2 separate regions of the Homo sapiens genome follow, and region 1 is linked to region 2. The links are contacts of gene promoters, found by promoter capture Hi-C in blood cells and fetal thymus (Javierre and others, 2016). All regions are on one chromosome and are shown on one strand. The core of a region is centred on a gene start or on the middle of the fragment in contact, and the rest is flanking DNA. Distances in the headings are between cores, read along the strand shown.

Region 1 (4,930 bases), core at 480-2,979, 230 kb before region 2:
TTCTTAGACATTTATTTGTTATTTGTCATTCACTTCTGAATTTATCATTTTTACATTTTTTTTATATCTCTCATTTTTACTTCAGTGTGAGTATTATCTTCATTCTGCTTTGTTCATTGAGTGTCATCAGTGCCAGCTTTTAAAAGTTCTAAAATAGGCCAGGCATGGTGGCTCATACCTGGAATCCCAACACTTTGGGAGGCCAAGGGAGGAGTTCAAGACCAGCCTGGGCAATGTCATATAGCAAGACCCCATCTCTACAAAAAATTTAAAAATCAGCCAAGTGTAGCATGCTGTACCCAGCTACTTGGGAGGCTGAGGTGGGAGGATCACTTGAGCTCAGGAGATCGAGGCTGCAGTGAGCTATGATTGTGCCACTACACTCCAGCCTGTGTGACAGAGCTAGACCCTGTCTCAGAAAAAAAGAGGGAGAGAAAAAAATTGTAAAATAACATTTTCTTCTATGAGTTATCTCTGTTAATACCTTTCTTCATCCCATAAAACACTGGAGATGACTTTACAGGAAACACACATGATAAAATAGCAAAATACACATATAATAAAAAGTCAGGACTAGATAAAAACAAGTTGGACCATGAGGTCAAAACCAGAAAGGAAACCAGCTCACTGATGTATAGGCCATGTTTCCCAACACACTTGCCAGAATTGGATTATAAATTAGTCTCTGAGTTACCTAATCAGTGAAGTCACAGTTAATTCTGTGATTTTCATTGCCTGTAAGATAACACATATATCAATTCCTTGGGCTAGCAAAGCTTTTCTTTCCCAACATTTATCTCTGAAAAAAAATTTCTTGCCTGAAGTTTAATACAGGAAACACTGAGGGATCTCCCACTGGGCACTGTGCAAGAATATCCCTATACCAAATGCAATAACTGATTTCATAATGTTATTCCTTGAAGCATCCTTTGATGAAAGCTGATAGCATGTTTCTCAAATTTCCACCTCTTTCTACTAATTTGTGCTTTAATTTCAAACTCAGGGCTTTTTTTTATTAGAGAAGTAGTTAGTCTCCAATTTTTTAGTGAAGTTTCTTTCCCCCAGTGCAGTTTTATTTAGGGAGTAATGATGTAATTTTCACAAATCTTAAAAATCCCCTCCCCGCTTTAAGCTGCAATTAAGTAGACTACTTTCAGTAGCTCTATTTGTACCTTTTAGGTTTTACAGAAGAAAAGCCTAAGAGAAGGCTTTTGTCATCAGTCTCCATGGCAATTCAGACAGCCAGAGAAGTTTATTTCGCATATAGTCTCCCTAACTTTATCTGCTGAGGTGGAGATATTTAAAAGGATAGGAAGCAAGGGGAGATTGGTGATGGAATTTTATGTTAATAGAGGATTTTTATGGCAGACAGGAAACTCTCTTGTGTGTTCATTTATAAAAATCTGATCTTAAGGCTGCACTTGGTAGTCATCTTTAGGGGAAGAGTGGAAAGAGGCTGGCAAGAAGATTGAAAAAGATCCATCTTGGGAAATGAGTCTGACTTCTAATTGGGAAAAATATAAGCTGATCTCAGCTAGTTGAGATCTTAATAAAACACAGAATTAAATGTAATTTGAAATAGGCCCAAAACTATGTAGTTAATATAATTTTCTAAATTAGGTGAGAATATAACTATTCGCCTAAGGGTTGGCTCTTTATATTTCAGTATTTAATAACCCCAAACCTGACAGGAGTTTTAACCAGCAATTGTATCTGTAGCAAGAGTTGCAAACTCAGGAGCAGTGGCTAGGTAGAAGAACCTAGGGAGAGAAAGAATATGGCAGACAGGAAGTACCTGACTGCCTGGCCTGGAGAGAACTGCTGTTTCAATGCATTGGAGTGTTGCCATGGAGGGAGGAAGGCTGAAACTGATGGCCTAATTAAAATGAAGACATAAAGCACTGTATATGCTAACCTGGTGCAGGCCACACACAACAGAGCTGGCTTATGAGAAACTCCTCGGAGGTTTGAAGAAGACGTTCTTCTGGAATATTAACTTTTCCTTGGGTCATCATCTTTCTGGGAGCTTCTTTCCTGGTATTTTCAGCCTCTCATTTCTTCATCTGACAAACTTCTGTAACCAGTACCATGCTGAGCCATCTACCTGGTGCTTCTGTCTTGAAACACGTGCCTGCGCGTCTCCTGCTGTGAGAGTGGAGTGGGGATGTGCTTAACTTGATTCTCTTGCTCCCATCTAGTTACTAATCCACTTGATTTCTTTCTACACAGGCTCTAAATGCTTGTCTTCTCTGTGTCTCCAGTCAACGTTTCCATTTCGGTGCCTATTCTTATTCCAGTCATGGATCCTGGACCCTTGTCCCTCTACATATTCTTAGACTTGTGGATTGTCCTGTTTTCTGCTATCATTTGATATGTCCAGATCTGAAATCAGCCCTTTCTTTCTCCTTCGTTCTAGTTCTTTATGGATAGCTACTAATCGTTTTTCCCTACTTGAATGTCCTGTGGTCATTTAGATCTCAGTAGCTTCAAAACCAAATTTGTTTTTTGCCTCTGCAGGGAGGAAGGGGTGATGCTGGAATTGAGTGTTATGAGGATATGTAAGAGTTAGCCAGGTGGAGGGAGAGAGGTGAACAAGGCAGCATATGTGTGGAAATATGGCAGGAGATGAAAATTAGACTGGGATCAGGTTATGAATGGCAGAGTTTGCTCAACTCTTTTAAGGAAGCTTTTTAACAGTAAAGGTAGGCTGAGCGTGGTGGTTCACGCCTGTAATCCCAGCACTTTGGGAGGCCGAGGCGGGCAGATCACCTGAGGTCAAGAGTTCAAGACCAGCCTGGCCAACATAGTGAAACCCCGTCTCTACTAAAAGTACAAAAATTAGCCGGGTGTGGTGGTGGGCGCCTGTAATCCCAGCTACTTGGGAGGGTGAGGCAGGAGAATTGCTTGAATCCTGGAGGTGGAGGTTGCAGTGACCTGAGAATGTGTCATTGCACTCCAGCCTGGGTGACAAGAGTGAAACTCTGTCTCAAAAAAAAAAAAAACAGGGAAGGTAACTAAATCAAGTTTGATTTGTGTTTTCATTGAGACCAGAGGCCTCATCTTCACTCATTCAATGCAGAGTTCAGTAAATATTTTTGATAGGGTTGTTTTTTGATTATAGGAATGAATTTGTAATAGTTCAAGTATTTGAAATGAATGGAGGGAATACTGCTATATTTATCTTGCTTTATAGAAGATAGCCTATACATTTTTATTTTTACAACGCAGCAATACAGAGAACTAAGATTATTAGAAGTCTTCAAATCCTCATGGTTTATATGATAAAAAATATTATATATATTTATGTACAAGTGGGGAGGTAGGAATCAGCCATCCTAAGATTTTTAACATTTTTATATTTTCATCTCTTCTTTTACAGGTGTCCTTCTTCACATCATTATGGAATCACCCATTTTTCACCATTAGCTGTATCACTCTAATAGGCTTGTTCTTTGCTGGAATACACAAGAGAGTAGTTGCACCATCAATGTATCCTTTACCAAGGATTAAATTCCATTCTCTGAAGTGCTTTGTTGATCTAGGTAATGGTTAAAAGCTTACTCTTGCCGGGCGTGGTGGCTCACGCCTGTAATCCCAGCACTTTGGGAGGCTGAGGTGGGTGGATTTCCTGAGCTCAGGAGTTTGAGACCAGCCTGGGCAACATGGTGAAACCCCATCTCTACTAAAATACAAAAAATTAGCCAGGTGTGGTGGTCTGTGCCTGTAGTCCCAGCTACTCGGGAGGCTGAGGTGGGAGAATCGCTTGAACCCGGGAGGCAGAGGTTGCAGTGAGCTGAAATCACGCCACTGCACTCCAGCCTGGGCGACAGAGCAAGACTGCGTCTCAAAAAAAAAAAAAAGAGTACGCTTTGTGTTTTTTTTTTGAGACAGAGTCTTGCTCTGTCGCCCAGGCTGGAGTGCAGTGGCGCGATCTCGGATTAGCCAGGATGGTCTCGATCTCCTGACCTTGTGATCCGACCGCCTCGGCCTCCCAAAGTGCTGGGATTACAGGCTTGAGCCACCGCACCCGGCCTAAAAGCATACTCTTGAAATGAGAAATTTTCCTTTGACCACATGTATTCAGTATAGCTGCTCGATGTCGAACGGTATTAGCAGAATACAATATGTCTTGTGATGATGTAAGTATTTTTTTGGTTAGAAAATTATAGACCTGCATGAAAACACTGAAATTTTTGGCTTTAGAAAGGTAGACATTTTATTAGCAATAAATTTTCTCTGTGGAATGAATAGTGAGAATATACTTAGAGCATTGATTCTAAGGTACTTTTACATTTAACATCTTTGGCATTGAGATCCATCTTACAGTCAATGAGATCTGACAAATTGGGAGAGTTGACAATTTAATCTTTCTTAATGACATAAAATCATGATGCATCTTATAACTGATGCATCTTAGATTCAGTGAAGTACAGTGGTTGTTTGTTATTGACCAAAAATGGCTCAGCGGATATTGGTTTTATAAACTACTGTTATTTATCAAGTGATATGCTATATATGTTATTTGTAAATATAGAGTCATAGATTAATTTGTGGACTATGGACATATGAACCTATTGTGTTTTTAAAAGTAGATGATGGGAGACTGGGCATGGTGGCTCATGCCTCTAATCCCAGCATTTTGGGAAGCTGAGGCAGGAGGATCTCTTGAGTCCAGGAGTTTGAGACCAGCCTGGGCAACATTAGCAAGACCCCATCTCTACAAAAAAATGTAAAAATTAGCCAGGCAGGTGGTGCACACCTGTAGTCCCAGCTGCTTGGGAGGCTGAGGCAGGAGGATTGCTTGAGCCCAGGAATTTGAGGCTGCAGTGAGCTGTGATCATACCACTGCAGTCTAGCCTGGACGACAGTGAGACCCTGTCTTTAAGTAAATTAAAAACTATCATGTACCAGTGTGTAATAAGGGTGTCTC
Region 2 (4,955 bases), core at 1,150-3,649:
ACCGCTGTCTTGCTGTCTGTCACTGTAGATTAGTTTCATCATTTCTGAAGTTTCATATAAATGGAAACGTGCTGAATGTGTCTTTTGTGGGTGGGTCTTTCACTGTCCTTGCCATCTTGGATATTCATTCATGTTGTGTGTTAGCAGTGATCTGTTCCTTTTTACTGCTGAGTAATTTTCTGTTGTGTGAATATATGAAAATTTGTTTATCCATTTACTCATTGCAGGATGTTTGGGTTTGCAGTTTGACTGTTAGGATGAAAGCTTCTCTGAACACTTGGATAGAAGTCATTTGTGGACACATGTACTCATTTCTTTTGGGTAAATACCTGAGATTGAATTGCTGAGTCATTGGGGAAGCATATGGTTTGCTTTTGTCCACACTGCCAGGCAGTTTTCATCATGGTGGCTCCATTTTACATTCCCACTAGCAGTACATGAGAGTGAAGAGCTGCTTCTCCTCCTTGTCAACACTTGGTATTTTCATTTTAATTTTAGCCATTCTAGTGGTACAGTGGAATCTCTATATGGTTTTAATTTGCTGGTGGCTAATGATGTTGAGTATCTTTTTCATGTGCTTATTGGTCATTTTGGCATCCTCTTTGTTGAAGTACCTGTGTAAGTCTCTTGTTCATCTTTTAATTGGGCCATTTGTCTTTTTCTTATTGGTTTGTGGGAGGTCTTTTTTTTTTTTTTTTTTTCTGAGACAGAGTCTCACTCTGTTGCCCAGGCTGGAGTGCAGTGGTGTGATCTCGGCTCACTGCAACCTCTGCCTCCCAGGTTCAAGTGATTCTCCTGCCTCAGCCTCCCAAGTAGCTGGGATTACAGGCTCATGCCACCACGCCTGGCTAATTTTTGTGCTTTTAGTAGAAACGGGATTTTGCCATGTTAGCCAGGCTGGTTTCAAACTCCTGACATCAGGTGATCCGCCCACCTTAGCCTCCCAAAGTGCTGGGATTACAGGCATGAGCCACCATGCCAAGCCTGGGAGATCTTTATATATGCTAGGGAGGAGTCTTTTGTCAGTCATATAGGATGTGACTTTCTCCTAGTCAGTGGCTTGTCTTTCCCCTCTTTTGATGATGATGATGTCTGTTCCTTCTCTGCTCTGGGACATTTGCTAGGGAGACATTTGCTGATAGGAGGGCGACCCTGATGGGGAGGATCCCCTGAGGTCTCCCACTCCCTCCTGTGGCCTCTGGAGCAGCCTGGAACCCTGTGTGAGTCCTATGCCTGTCTCCACCAGATGGCAGACCTTAGATCACCTGCTAGTTCCCTGCATGGGGCCTGGCACAGAGACAGCACCTAACATGTTCAGTTCCTCCTGATCAGTATGTGTGGGATGTCTACTCTGTGACCAGCTGGGGCTGGACGCTGGGGACACAGCTGTTGATATTACAGCTGCCCTCCCATCTCTGCCCTCCTCAAGGATATAACCTAGGAAAGACAGACCAGCAACCAGTGGTCACAGCACAGAGGTGCTGTGATGGAGGAAGGTGCAGGGGTTAGAAGACCAGAAGAGGGGTGTCTGACCCTGGATGTGGGAGGTGGAGGAGGTACACCATTGCTTTGAGGAGCTCGTAATCCCAGGATGCCAGTCACATGCTCAGAAGGGCTCCCTGAGGACCAGGTGCTGCTGTGGCCAGCGGGCTGGAGGCCTCCCCCTCTGTTTTGGGAGTCTCCACTCTCTCCTCTTAGCCTCTCCTGATCTGCTCCCTCGCCACTGAGCGCCCCATGATCCCAGTGGGGAAACTGAGGCCTGGCATAGCAGAAGGGGTGCTGGGGTTTGATTCCCAGCCTCATGGTGCCCAGGGATGTTGGGGGCTCTCCAGGGACTCTGATTTTGGAATAGGAGCCCCAAGGATGGGCCTGCCCCTGCCCTGCTCCCAGCATGGGAGCGTAGGTGAGATGGAGAGGCAGTGGGCTGGGCTGGAAGATCTTTGACCTCTCCTGGGCCCCTCTCAGAGGTGGACGGGGCCACCTTACTACATAGATAGGGAAATTGAGTCCCAGGAAGGCGCGGGGGGCCTGTCTGTGAGCGTCAGAGCCCACAGGAGGCTCAGGCCAGGCCGCTAATTGCTAATTGCTCACTAAGGATGCATTTGCTCCCCACTTTGAACAGTTGTCTTGGGGCTTCTAATGGAGGTTTTTGGTGCTTGTTTTATTATTATTTTTTCAAAATTGTTCCAGCTTCAAGCTTCAAATTTCCATGAAGTCATTGGAGCCCGACAGCTCCCAGGCCTGGCAGCTCCCAGGCTGCGGAGAGCAGCACTGTGGCTGGGGGAGGGGGCCCTGCACACCCCGAGAGGCTGGGCTGTGGGCTGTGCCTTAGCCTTGCTGCCGCCGCCGCCGCTGCTGCCGCTGCCGGAGCAGGAAGTGGTGGGTCCCAGATGTGACTCACTCTCATTAGGTAGCGTGGAAGGAGCCTTCGGATGGGTGAGCCTGGGCGCGTCTGAGGAAGGGCAGGCGGGGGCCGGGCCACCTCCCTGCAGACCCTGGCCGGCTGCTGGGGCCGGGGAGGAGAGCCAGGTAAAAGTGGGGTGTGGGGATGGAGTGTCACCAGTCCTAGTGGCTTGAGCCCCAGGGGACGGGGCTGGACAGTGGGTGGGAAGCAGCTCACCCGGCAGCCTGGCCTGGGAGTGCACTGGGCAGGGTCTGGGCTGGGGGAGTAGGAGGCTCCGTGAGCCTACTGGGCAGATGGCTGGGAGAGGCGGCCCTTCAACAGGGGACCAGAGGCGACTTGTCACTGGCTTTTCCCAGCCTGACAAGAAAGTGCGGTTGTGACCACAATGTTGTACATGTGGCCCGTTCCATCTGGAATTCTAGGAACCACAGACTCTCAAATGTCCACACTCCTTCTCGAGGGTGTAATTTTACATTTACAAGCACACATGACTTTTCTCAATGAAAGGAAACATTGGCAAGGGAAGGCCAATTCAACTAATTTTATGAAATTATAAAACAAAAAACAAACAAAACCTCTGAAAGGAGTGCATGCCTGAGGGTCAGGAAACCAAGATGCCTCCAAAAAGCAGACTGGTTTCCCTTTCCCTGCAATGCCTCTCCTCTATCCCCCAGGGACCGCATGGGCCATCTGGAGTGGGTCTTTCTGGAGCGGGTCTTTCTGGAGCTTTCTATGCATTCATCTAAACATGTATGTACAGAGGGTGAGGCAGTTGCCTCTTCTCTGTGTCATCACATCAGGGTCAAGGGCAGGGACATCTGTGGCTGGGGGCTTCCTCCCTGGACAGCCATTGCTGGAGAGGAGAAGGGAGGGCCGGGAGGGGGAAGCCAAGGGCCTGGAGGTAGGGGCCAGGCCGAGCCACCTACGACAGGGGCCCTGGGTCCAAGGCCTGGACGGGCAGCCAGTGTGGGCTGGATGTGTCTGGAAGGGCTATGTGACCGTGGGCCTTCACTAGCATCACCATCTTGCAGATGGAGGCTGTGAGGGGTGGACTCAACACCAGTGTTTCTCGGAGTGAGGACCGGGCTGCCCAGGGAATCACAGGGGGTTCTAGCCTGTGTGTGGAAGGACATGTTTAAAATCTAAGTATTTGTCTTGGGGAAAAAAAAATCTGTAAATAGGACATTGCCATTGTGACATCATGACTGTATTATTGTCTTAGACGAGGCCAAAGGAGACATAAAAGTGACAAGCCAGCCAATTTGAGAGGAAGTGCCAAGTGCCAGCCCTGCAGGAAGTGCAGGAGGCTGAGGGGGCTGCAGCTCAGGAAGGCGTTTGCTGCACAGCCTTCGCTTCCCACCCAGTTGTCTGTCTTCCCACCTCCAGAGGCCCTGGGTTCCCAAGGTTTACCTGCAGCTCCTGGTGCAGAGTGTGGGGGAGGGGAGGCTCTCAGATTGTTCCAGATTCTGTGGCCCTCAGAAGGGCAGGTGTGAGCTTTGTGGAGGTAGCGTCTCCGGTGGTATTTTCTTTCTTTCTTATTTTTATTTATTATTATTTTTTGAGATGGAGTCTCTGTCTGTTGCCCAGGCTGGAGTGCAGTAGTGACCCTCTTGGGTCACTGTAACCTTTGCCTCCTGGGCTTAAGCCGTCCTCCTCCCTCAGCCTCCTGAGTAGCTGGGACTACAGTTACCACACCACTACACCTGGCTAATTTTTGTATTTTTAGTAAAGTAAAGACGGGGTTTCACCATGGTGGCCAGGCTGGTCTCAAACTCCTGACCTCAAATGATCCATCCACCTCGACCTCCCAAAGTGCTGGGATTATAGGTGTGAGCCACCACCCCCAGCCTCTTTTCTTTTTTTAAGACAGGATCTCACTCTGTCACCCATGCTGGAGTGCAGTGGAGTGGTCATAGCTCACTGCAACCTTGAACTCATGAGCTCAGGCAATCTTACCGCCTCAGCCTTCTAAAGTGCTGGGATTACAAGCATGAGCCCGACGCCCAGCCTTCTAGTGCTGTTTTCATGAAAGAAGCAGCTGTTTACTAGCAGCTGTTTTCCGGGTGATGAGGGTGAAGGTGGTATTGCAGAACATCTTTGCCAGGAGTAGGTCTGGGAGGTTTGCTTGAGGGCATGGAGGTTGGTGTAGGGAGAGCTCAGGAAGTAGAAATTGGGCTGGAGTGTGGCCTCTGGACAGGCCACAGGAGAGTCTCAAAAGGAGAAAAGATCCCAGCACTTTGGGAGGCCAAGGTGGGCGGATCACTTGAGCCCAGGGGTTCGAGACCAGCCTGGGCAACATGGCGAAACCCCGTCTCTACAAAAAATACAAAAATTAGCTGGGTGTGGTGGCGTGTGCCTGTAGTCCCAGCTACTTGGGAGGCTAAGGCAGGAGGATCCTTTGAGCCCAGGAGTTGGAGGCTGTAGTGAGCCATGACTGTGCCACTGCACTCCATCCAGCCTGGGTGACGGAATGAGACCCTGTCTCAAAATAAATAAATTTTTCAAAAGAGACAAAAGTCCGACTCGATGGTTGCACTGGGGACATGCACCC

What was found. Contacts are between HindIII fragments. The CHiCAGO score rates a contact against its expected background, and 5 or more counts as called.
Region 1: a fragment that was not itself captured here is called in contact with the fragment with the promoter of ADCY7 in region 2 in 1 of 17 cell types (M1 macrophages); the score reaches 7.9 in M1 macrophages.

The regions. Positions count from the first base shown.
Region 1 is chr16:50,030,018-50,034,947 of GRCh38, forward strand. CNEP1R1 (CTD nuclear envelope phosphatase 1 regulatory subunit 1) reads left to right here. Exons shown (of 6, transcript NM_001281789.2): 4 at 3,380-3,489; 5 at 4,085-4,139. Among named protein-coding and RNA genes, the nearest start is that of CNEP1R1, 7.3 kb to the left of the region's middle. The HindIII fragment of the contact is 1,910 bases long and covers 775-2,684 here.
Region 2 is chr16:50,264,152-50,269,106 of GRCh38, forward strand. It overlaps ADCY7 (adenylate cyclase 7), which reads left to right and starts at 2,400. Exons shown (of 26, transcript NM_001114.5): 1 at 2,400-2,529. RefSeq lists enhancers at 297-476, 1,544-2,137, 2,083-2,172. The HindIII fragment of the contact is 14,845 bases long and covers 2,196-4,955 here.